2 separate regions of the Homo sapiens genome follow, and region 2 is linked to region 1. Evidence: promoter capture Hi-C in human tissues and cell types (Jung and others, 2019). All regions are on one chromosome and are shown on one strand. The core of a region is centred on a gene start or on the middle of the fragment in contact, and the rest is flanking DNA. Distances in the headings are between cores, read along the strand shown.

Evidence for each region. The method cuts DNA at HindIII sites, captures the fragments that hold promoters and counts their contacts. A contact is called where the count stands out against the background at its distance.
Region 2: a fragment that was not itself captured here is called in contact with the fragment with the promoter of CRTAC1 in region 1 in 1 of the 25 tissues and cell types used here (bladder).

What each region holds. Positions count from the first base shown.
Region 1 is chr10:98,027,400-98,032,825 of GRCh38, forward strand. It overlaps CRTAC1 (cartilage acidic protein 1), which reads right to left and starts at 3,222. Exons shown (of 15, transcript NM_018058.7): 1 at 3,050-3,222. The coding sequence starts at 3,073. The HindIII fragment of the contact is 23,473 bases long and covers 1-5,426 here.
Region 2 is chr10:99,366,458-99,372,417 of GRCh38, forward strand. The region is part of intron 6 of CNNM1 (cyclin and CBS domain divalent metal cation transport mediator 1); the gene reads left to right. Among named protein-coding and RNA genes, the nearest start is that of CNNM1, 40 kb to the left of the region's middle. The HindIII fragment of the contact is 3,893 bases long and covers 2,139-5,960 here.

The DNA.
Region 1 (5,426 bases), core at 1,972-4,471:
AATACTCTTTGGAAACTCTCCAATCCATCTATAATCTGAATCTGGGAGGTCTCACCAGCAGTGGTGTGACTGCAAGCAGAGAGACCCCACGCCAACATTCCTTGGCGCTCCAGACCTGGGTTCCAAGACCACAGTGAGGGACTCGGCACTTCTGACTCCTAAATGCACAGACTGAAACCTGGACTTGCATGGCTTTTGCTTAAAACACCACTTGGAATAATGAGACGAGATTGTAGAGGCAGGGAAAGAATAATTAGGAATTTCTATGACCTGTGTATGTCCATGACAAGAACTGTATTTTCTCCTCACCTCCTCACTCTGAAAAACAGATTCAAAATAGAATCTCCCCAACTGTATGGGATGTATTAATTTACCAAAGCCTGGTCAGTCAATAACTATGAGTGCCTACTGTATAGAGAAAGTATGTCCATCTTTATAGTGAAGAGGAAGCAGGCCGCTGGAGTGGAAACAGCTCTGAATCGAGCAGTGGGAATCCTAGGGCCTAGTTCCATGTCTTCCACCAAATAGCCATGTGACCTTGGCTTTATCCAGCTTCAGTTTTCTCATCTGTAAATTAAATGTGCATGTGAGTGTTGGGATGGAATGGGGTTGGATGAGATGCTCTCCAAGGCTCCTTGCTTCTGGCTCTAATGTTCTGGAACTCCATGAACCCTTAAAGAGTTCAAAGAACACAGCGGCACCAAGCACAAAGGAATGATCCCCGAGAGAGGGTGGGGCTGTGTACCAGCTCTGTCTCCTTGGAATGTTGTGCTTGCACCTGCCCCATAGCACCCGAGGTCACAGGACCACCTGAAGCCCAGGAAGCATGTGGTAGAAGGATTCCAAGTACGATGGTGGTGGTTGAAGGCTGTAGCCTGAGCTGCCTTAAAGCATTAAGTTGCTACAGCCAGTAAAGGGCAAGAAGTGAGAAAGTCAGTGGTCCTGAGCCAGGTACCTTTGGCGCCCCCTACTGGACACCAAGGAGTCTGCTCCACCTTTAGGCTTCCACCGCCTCAGCACGGAAGCAAGGGAGCGCTTGAGCATGAGAGGCTGTCACAAGCTGTTTAGTAGGACTGCCTTCCCGGTTGGTGGTATTCTTTCTATAGAAGTCTATTGCACTCCCTAGAATTACACAGGCCATTGGTCCACAGATTTACAGGGGCACCCCTGCGCAGCCATAGGACGTCTTAACCAAACATCAAGGTACCAAGGAATAAACACCAGGGTTCAGAACACCAGGTGCAGCCCAGATGGAGAAGGGAAGAAAGAGCAACAAGCAGGTATTTCGCTGCACAAATCCCCAGTGGAGAGAAGGTCTTGGGAAATGCAGCAGAAAAATGTTGACTGCAGCAGACAACGATGGAGCTGGGGGTTGGGATATAGATTGATAGCACCCATAAAATATCTCCAGGCTGAAGCAGGTACCCTAGGAGTTTGAACATCCACCTACATTCAGGGATGGGATAAGGTGGAGGATTCAGGCTCAAATGAGCAGCCACAGAGCAGGTTCCCCAGACTCCCTACACACCGTTTCGACCTTTTCCAGAGTCCATTAGTACCCACCGGAAATGGAAATGTTCTAATTGTGGTCCTCTGTGCCATCATCAAGACCCTCAACTCCCTTCATTACCTCTTAAATTGACTTTAGGACCTACTGCCAGAAGGATGTTCTTAACCAAGTCAGAGAGAGAGAGAGAACATTTTCTCAAGAACCATGCTGGAACAGCCACCATGTTCCCACTTTTCCAGCCTCCACCTCTCCCCCATGGCTGAGGGTGAGGTACTCTGTGACTCTCAATGAGCTCTAATTCAGTCTTGGACATCTCCAGCCCCAAGTCGTCTGGGTTCCAAATCTCCGTCAATCGCTTATCTCTTCCCACATGAGTTCTCCCCTGACTCAAGAAAACACTATAGAACTGTCCCCTGTCCTGGGACCCTCTTCCCTTCTTTTCCACTTGGCTTCACGTGGAAAGTCCTGCACCCATCCCAGAAGACACCTCAAGTGCAACTCAAGAATGTGTCCTGTCAGGAGAACGGAAGCATCTCCTGGGATGTGCAGAAGCCACACTGGGTGCACCCACCAGCAGCAGCAGCGGCGGCGGCGGCGGCGGCGGCGGCGGCGGCGGCGGCAGCAGCAGCAATATTCATTAGTCATTCCTGGAGGAAGCCCCCCCAGCTCTCAACCCTAGGAGAATTTCCCCGCCACTCTGGGAGGCTTCCATCCAGGCTGGGATGACTTTGGATTCTTGAGTTGCTTTCTGCAGAAGCGGGACTAACCAGGGCTCCCAACTACTGTACTGCAAAGAAGCGCGCTGCATTGCTGGGCATGCCCCCAAGCCCGGCCTGGCTGCCCCATCAAAGCCTCCAAGTGCCCCCACGGGGTCGAGGAGGACTCAGGGTTCCCCTGGAATGCCTGAAGCCGGCTTGCCTCAGGCAGCCTGAAGGGAAGACCACACCTCGTCCAGCATAAGGCGGCTAGCAGCTACGCCGCGCGCGGGGCTGGCTCCCGGAGCTCTCTGCCACCCAGCGCTGTGCCCGGGAACTCGGCTTCCCAGGGGAGGAAGAGCCAGCCCGCGGGGCTCTTCCCCAGCCTGGAAGCGTAGGCACTCGGCCGAGGCCAGTGGCTTCCCAGGCCCGGGTCTCAGCCTGGCTGACTGGGAGACTCTCCCGATAGCCCGGCACATCCCTCCTCACCCGCTCCGCCCCCTCCAGGCCCCAGAGGCCCCCTCCCCTGACAGCTGACCTCCAGTGCGCCCCCAACACTTTCTCTGCCAGCTGCTGGCTGTCGCCCCCACACATCAGCTCCCACCTCTCCGCCACCTCCAACCCGGCCGCCGCCTCACCCCCAGCCCGCGGGGGAGGCTCCGCGCGCCAATCGAGTCCAGCGCCTCCCAGCAAGTTAGGAGCGAAGCCGCCGCCTTCGCGATCCCAGTCTTCCCGGGTTCCCGGGCGGCGTCCCCGCCACCCTTGCGGGCGGATCCGGGGGGGCGCGCAGAGCTGGAGAAACTTTCTCCGCCTTAGGGTGGGGGGCACCGGTGCAGATACTCACGCCGGGGTCAGCGCTCGGAGCCATCCTCCCGCTCTCGGCCCCGCCGCCTAGGGGCGTGGGAAGCGGGCGCTCGCTGCCGCCTCTGCCGCCGGCGCCGCCGCCTGCTTGCTCCCAGCCCCGGTCCCGGGCTGGCCTCGAGCCTCCCGCCCCGACGCCGCGCGCTCGCTTTATACAACTCCACTCGAGCGCGCCCGGTCTTATGTAAAGGCTGGCGGAGGCCCGCAGCCAATGGCGCGGCAGCTGGAGCCGGGGGCCCGGGGTGGGGGGCGCCGGCGCGGCCAATCGCGGCCCCGAGAGCCCGGAGAGCCGGGCGTGGGGAGGGAGCGCCTCCCCGCGCTGATTTAGGAGCCGGGATTGCGGTGGCAGCAGCCGGCAGCCAGGCTGGCCCGGCGCGGCGCGGCGGCCACTGGGGTGGGCGGCGGCGAAGGCGGCGGCGAGGGCGGGCGCCCCCCGCGCCCCGCCACTGCGTCGCGTAACCTTCAGGCGGCAGCGAGGCCTGGCGAGGAGGGGAGAGGGCGCCTGGCTGGGCGCTGGGGGCCCCAGGCCGGAGGGAAGCGAGGGTCCCTCGGGAGGCAGCGCAGGGAAGGAACGCGAAGGGGGAGGGGAGGGCGGCGAGCCCCAGGACCCCGCGGCCACCCCTGCGCGCAGGACCGAGGGTGGAGGCGGGAGCGGCTGCACTGCCTTCCCATTTCCCCCCAGGATAGCGATCTGGCGTCGCCGGGCCGGGCCAAAGCGGCCGAGCGAGCCGCGCTGATGGCGAGATTTCGACTACGGAGCTAGAGCCGAGCCGATCTTTATCCAGCCTGGGGACGTGTCCGAGCACCTCCCGGGGACTGCTCAGTATGGAGAGCAGGGCTCCGCGACGGCCCCCGCAGGCGGGGAGCGGGCGAGCGCAGCTCGGAGATCAGGCGCGCAGAGGCCCAGGCGGCTGCGGGCAGCGCCGCTTCTACCCCACCCCGTCCCCACCAGCAGTGCCCCCACCCCATCCCACCTAGTCCCTACCCCAGCAGTGGCCGAGTCGGGCCTGGCCCACCCGCTCCTGCCGCCTGCGTCCTACTAGCCTCCCTCACCGCTTTGATCACAGGTACTGCCCGCCTCTCCTCGCCCCCAACCCGCTGCCTTGGTGGTGGTGGGGGGATGGTTTCTGCCTCTCTGGACCAGGGGAATGGGGGTGCTAAGCGCCAGAAAAACACACTTGATCAGCAATGCTCAAAATACCCCTGTTCAGGCAGGAAACTGGCCTTGGTGGGTCACACTCTGAAGGCAAATCCTTTATTTTACGCCTAGAATAGAGCCTGGCACATAGTAGGCGCTCAGTGTTTATTGAATGAATTCTGAGCTTCCATGAGTGAGGTCTTTGGGTTTCTGAAAGCCAGGTAAAGGGGCCACAGAAGAGAAAGACTTGGGAATCCACCATCGGAGAGGGAAGGAGCTAGGACTGTTTTCCCATCCGTTGACGCTTTTGTGACCATCACCCACTAGTCTGGCTTCTGGGCCCTTGACTCTTAGAATGATTTGAATGTGTTCTTTTATAGAGGGCCACACATCCAGCCTCTGGCCCCTGTTATCCACAGATTTTGAGCAGAACTACCAGGACCTAGTCTGGGCTCTGTTTTCAGGTCTCTGTGATCTTCCTCTGAAAAGAAATAGCTAGGCACAGACAAACTTTCTGGCTTTTTGAGCCCCCATCAAGCCTGTAAGGTTGTGGGCCCCTTTGAAAATCTGGCAAAAATTACTGAATCATTTTTCTAGAAAAATATACAAACACACACATTTACACACACACACACACACACACACACACACACACACACACACACCTTGAGTATACTTTCAGGATCATTAGGAACCCTGAGTCTCTTGGGGCTCGGTCCAATGTCAACCTGTTTCTTCAGGGGTCTAGGACAGTAGTTTATAATCACCCTCCTTTTGGGGATCACAGACCCTTTAGAACCTTTCAAGAATCTCATAAATGTTATGGATCTGTTGCTTATAAAAATGCTCACTCACATACACACATGTTGACATGCAACTTTAGGAGGGTTCGTGGATCATTAAAACTTAATCTAGGGCCCTGATTAAGAACCTTCATCTATCGGCAAATAGACTCTGCCCCCAAGGCCATATCTGATCCCCAGCTCTCTGCATAAGGAGTCCAGTTGGCTCTGCACCCTGCTGGAACATGCCACCACCTTGTTCTGAGGGCATCTGAGTCATCTGGCCAAGGCTCTGGCACCTGAGAGACTGTCTCCACACTTTCTCTGCATCTTGGTCCCCGCCACCCTCTTAATGTGGAAATAAGTTGCAGGTTGTCATATTATGTCTGATCTATGAGCATTCCTTAGCCAGAAACTCCAACTCAGGGAGACAGCAAGTG
Region 2 (5,960 bases), core at 2,835-5,334, 1.3 Mb after region 1:
TATATGACCTTCTTTCTTAAAAAAAAAAAAAAAGAAATTGCTGTGGCCGGGCATGGTGGCTCTCACCTGTAATCCCAGCACTTTGGGAGGCCAGGACGGGTGGATCACATGGTCAGGAGATCGAGACCATCCTGGCCAACATGGTGAAACCTTGTCTCTACTAAAAATACAAAAATTAGCCAGGCATGGTAGCACGTGCCTTTGATCCCAGCTACTAGGGAGGCTGAGGCAGGTGAATCACTTGAACTTGGGAGGTGGAGGTTGCAGTGAGCCAAGATCATGCCACCGTACTCCAGCCTGGCTACAGAGCAAGATTCCATCTCAAAAAAAAAATTGTTTTAAGTAGAAGGAAGATGTTATCTGATTTCTTCCTTTCCTTCCTTCCTGTTTCTAGTTCTTTCTTTCAAAAGCTTTCAGTTGCATCAGTGAGATAGAAATAAAGTTGCAACATTGATTTCTCCTTTAAAACTAGTTAACTGAAAAGAAACATAGCACTCTTTCTCTTTCTCTCCCCATGTTACTGAGCATCTCTGTAAATCTTCAGAAGGAAAAAGAAATATTATTAGCCAATGGGGTAAAAAGACATTTTCCATCCTCCCCGAACCCATACTTAGTGTAGTGAAGTGTGAAGTAACTGCAAAGGCCAGCCATACCCCACAGTTATCCCGGGTGAATGCTCAGCCCATGGTCCAGCCACCCAGCATCTTTCACTGGCCAAGAACCTCAACCTATAGGTTGAGGGAGAGCTTAAGTCTAAGCTAAAAGGCAATAAAATCTTGTAGGGTCTTGGCCCAGCCCCGTCCCCCTATGCTTGAAGCTAGCTTAATCAGCCTTTGAGGATGAGGAGTGAGATTATGAGTTTGCTGGAATACTGGCACGATGACCTATGCTTCAAAGTTGAACTTGAGGCTACAAAGAAGTCTCTGGCTTTCCTGCATGAGGTGAAGGGAACATAATCTACACTGTCTTCTTCTTCTTGGTTCTGATTGCCAGGAACCCAGGGTAGCTGGAATAGGTGCACACACAGGTGTGCAGATGTGGAAAGAACAGGTCTCCTGTCTGTTTGGTGTATACAATGTATACAGTTTGGTGTATACATTTATACATTTAGAACTATGATTCTTCTTGAGAATAGAGAGTTTCTTAACTCCATTGTGTCTCATAATATTAGAGGCCCATTCTAATATTCATTAACATCTCATGTCAGAGCAAAGGATTATCAGGTAGGTAATTTCAAATAAAATCATTTGATGTAGCAAATAAAACTGCAGAAGCAGTCTATTTCCATATGCTATCATCTGCAGACTGGTTTCATTTAGCTCCTTAAAAAGGACTCTGGGAATGATCAGATAAGAGAGATGAAGACAGGTTCCCATAGTTCCCCTGCCCAGACACCACTTGAAGGGGGAGGGGCTGGACTGTTATACACACTGAACTCTACCCGGGCCCCCCAGTGATAGCCAGCACCATTTCAAACTCTGTGGGGAAAGAGAAGGACAATGGAACGGAGAGATACTTTGGACCACTGGTACTTACCACAAAGTGGCTTTGATTTAATTCATCAAGTTGATTCACATTAACACTGCTAGAGATATTGTTCTTCCTTTATCCCTATCCTCTAGCAATGCACAGTTCTTCACCAACACTGTGAGCAGAGGGATCTCCTAGGAGTCTGAGGCAGGATCTAGCTTCCTCAAGGATGCCCCTAGCAGGAGCACACGCTTTCCATTCAGGCCTCTGAGTACCTGTGCAGGTGCCCTTGGCAGTTGAGCTCCATGGGAGCTGGGAGAGCTTGGTGGGAATGCAGCGCTGGGCTCCCAGCATGTTTGCTGGCTCAAAATGGGAGCCTCAGAGAATGCTGCCTACATGCTTCCCACAGGGCTCGGCTTGTGCTTGTACATCTGATTCCAAGATGTGTTGCACATCTTTTCAGATGACCTTCAGCAAAATCCATTTTATTTTCTTGTCTTTCTGGAGTGTGACTTTGTAAGAGGATGTGATTCCTGTGTTTTCAGAGTCAAGATTCCTTTTTGCAGAGAAATGTGATGTTGTGAAGATCCAGGAACAGACTGTCTCACCCACTTTGTTCTTTGTCTCTTTCCTTTTGTGTTTATATCTTCCCTTTCGCAACTCACAAATCCTTGGCCCCTGACTCTTTAGTGCCTGTCTCTGTGTCTCGTACCTTCGCTGTCAGCAGAGGGGACTCTCTGGCAGGCTCCCCAGGTAAACATGCATGGGTGTCTCGGGTCTCTGTAGATCCAGAGGGGTTTGCAAGAAGCCTTTGGCCTCTGTCACTTTCCTGCATGAGAACTAATCACTCCAACAGGCACTCCTGTGACTAAGGCATAGCACTTTGCACAAATAGCACTCATTTGCACATACCACCCAGGCATTGCTGGTTCAGTGGTGTCATTTGTGAGTTTACCTCCCAGGAATGTATCTGTGTATGCACATGGAAAAATGGTGGGGGTGAGGGATAGTGTGAGTTTTTCCTCATTTGTCTGACTACAGAATGGAGGGATGAGGAGTACAGCATGAATGAAGTAGGAATAGTGGAATACTGTGCTTTATTTCTACCTATTTTCTTTCTACCTTTCTTTCCTTCCATGTCCTCATCTTCCTAATAATGTTACTATGTGATGATCATATGCTCACTAGCTCTGCTCGTACAAAGGATGCTATATGTAAAACTTTCAAAACAACTTTTCATTAGGTTTAACCTCTTTTGTTGATAAATGAAATAGTCACTGGGTTTCTTTTTAATCGGGTAACAATTCCTCATAGAGCTAGACAATGATTCAATGACTGAGTAGAATGCCACAAATCTGAATGATCAACCGTTTGTTTTCATCTCCAGTGGTTGTTCTCTTGGGCTCATAGAGCAAGTAATGACTAAACCAGGAATGTATTTGTTAAATTGCCCTGCAGTTAGAACACAGTCCAATTTCCTCTACCCTCTAAATCTGTATCCCTTATCACGTTGCTGGGGTAATGATACTAAGACCCCACCATATCCTCAGTCATCGAGAAATCGCTTATGTTTCTCTGTCTATATAGTAGACCCTCAACATTTAAAAAAGGTCATGTTTTGAGACTTCAAACCCTCCAATTTGCAACCTCAGAAGTATTTATGTTGACTTCTGTTTTTTCCCAAAATCACTTTTTTTCATCAAAAACCATCTGGTCCTCATGTTGATCTATACAAGATAAGTTAACCACCTTCTCAAATTTCACCAAAGTTTTCTCTCTCTCTCTCGATGGTGATTTTCCACTAAGAAATAGTTTTTCTTGCTTTGTGAGAGCTCATGCCTTCATAATGACTACAGGATCGGACAGTCAATGTGAAATGCCAATCTGGTGCCCTCACCAGCTAAATGGTCTACTCCTACATGCCCGCAAAATTAGAAATGACCACTTGATGGACCTTCAAGTTCCTTCACATGCAGTGAATCTTGGTGAATGCCAAGAGTGTGCTGTGAAGGTTCAGAGGAAAGGGGAGATGCACATTTTAAAAGACTTTCAGCCCAAAAGATCAAAGCGAGGATGTGTTTTCCTTTTTAATTAACCTTCAGTTAACCAGATGACCTAGTTAATTGTAACTTCCCAGTTAAAGGAAGGTTAATTCTAGTTCATCTGTATTGATTATTATAAAGTCCATGATAACCCAATGTCAGACAGAGATGAAAGTGATTCCCTCCTGCTGTGCAGAACCCCCAGGAAGTGCTGAGACTTCTGATCCAACTCTGGGTGGTGTCATGTGCCCCTGAGAGTATTTTCAACTTTCCCCCCTTTTCCATGACTGTGGATATTCAACACAACAGGAGATTAGTGTCAACACAATGGAAACCCTACCCATAAAGAGGTAAGCTTATTCCCACCCTTGGTTTAACTCTGCAGGGTGGAGCAATGGTGGGTACAGTGGGAGAAAACCAGAGGTAGGGAATGCCTAGTTTCTCCTTTGGCTTATTCCTCTCCACCTTGTGTCTGGTCTCTATCTAGAGCTAATCACTGTGCCTTCCCAGTGATCAGCTGACATCCACAGGACCTATTCTGTGGTATTTCCTCTGTCACTCTTGCTTTTGTTCCAAATCATTAAAAGAAGTAGCCTCAGAGGTCTGGGATTTTTGTAGAAAGAAGTTCCAGGTAACTTCTGGCCCTGTAAGCACAGACTTTGGAACCAAGGGCTCTTATTCAGTGCTCGATCGTCCATTCATAGTGTGCATTGAGATCAACAATGATGCCATTTTCTCCTAGAATATACCAAAGTACCTAAAAATTTTTTTTACTTTGCAAAATGTGCTAAGTGGAAATATTGATTTCTGATCCAGATACATTAATTTACATATATGCTAAATCTCAACCGTATCTTATATGGGAGGAAAATAAATCCTAGAGATTAGTAGGGTCTTGAAGTCTAAGAAAGAATTGTCATTGTCTGATTTGACTCCCCACAATCACTTTGGGAGATAGGCAGGAATAGTCATTGAAAAACAACAGATTAAAAAACAGGTTCTGAGAAAGTCAGTCAGTGTTGTATGTGTATTAGGTAGGCAGAGGGACAAGGACTGGAATCTAAGTCTTAGATCCTGCTCTCCACCTACTGCCTGGGACCTTGCTGTACCTCTGAATATAGACATTTTATGCCCCCTAGAGGGCTGTGATTTATTTGCATTTTGAAAGCAGTGCTAATTACGAATCTGGTGCTCGCACTAGATTGAGGCTAGGGGTCTCTGCACCAAATATTGCCATCATTATCCATAGGGAGTCTCTTTCTATTTGAGCCTTAGTTTGAAATAAGAACACAGTGGTTCACAGATTACCTCCAGGTTGTGGTGTGGTTAACCAACTTGGCAGGTGCTTTCATTTAAAAATGAAACTTCTGATCAGGGGTTTCCCCTGAAAGTACACAGCCCCACTGCAATTAGCATTCCCTTTCCCCATATTCACTCCTTCTTTCTTCTCCTGGTGGTGGAGATAATTTTGAATTCCCCATAACAGTCCTTTCAAATCCACAAAAGCACAGAGACAGAGACTTTGGAACCAACGGTTCTTTTTCAGTGCTCGGTTATCTATTCATAATGTGCACTGAGATCAATAATGACAGTTTTCTGCTTGAATATACAGGGAATCTCTAAAAATAATATTTCTACTTTGCAAAATGTGGTAAGTGGAAATATTCCTTCGGGTTGGCTCTTGTGTGATGAACATTTGGGAACCATTAAAGCTCCGTGTAAAGTGAATGAGTTCATCTGGGATCCTAACTTGGGCTTAGAGTTCACATCGTAGTTTTGACAGACAGCTGGCTTTGGTGTTCGGTTGTCTGATGCTAAATATTGCCCCAGTATAATGAATTTTAATAATTCTAGTTGGTACTCTTACAGGTCTATGTAATTAAGCTTCCTCATCCATTTTGGAGAACAGAGATGGCCCACGGCACAATCACAGTCAGACCAAAGTAGGCCATTCCCCCTCATCCCTCACTGATGGTACAAAAGATGTAGGCAGGCAACCCCTGAACCCTCCTTTTTCCTCAAATCCTCATAGGGAAAATGGGAGCTTAGCATTCTACTTCTGTATCTTGGGGTCTGATTCCAGGATAGGGTTGTGAAGGCTCCCTGGATACAGGTGTCACAAATGAAGCAAGAGTCCCAGAGCTGCTGTGTATAGATTTTCAGGGCCCCTGACTATTACTACAGAAGGAGAGGAGATTCCATCCAGCCCCGATTACAGTGTGAAGTCCTCTTCCATACCCTTTGCCACCCTGCCCCCAATTTTACCCTAGTGCCTTCCCCACCCAAACCTCAGCAATCCAAGTAGCCAACCCAGGACAGATATCTGTTAGAGACTGACCACTCAAAGGCTGCAGGAATGAGGTCTGCCACAATTTCACAGAGCAGAAAACCCTGCTCCCCATCACCCGGTTACACCTGAGCCAACCTGAGGGTCTGATGCAAGAGCAA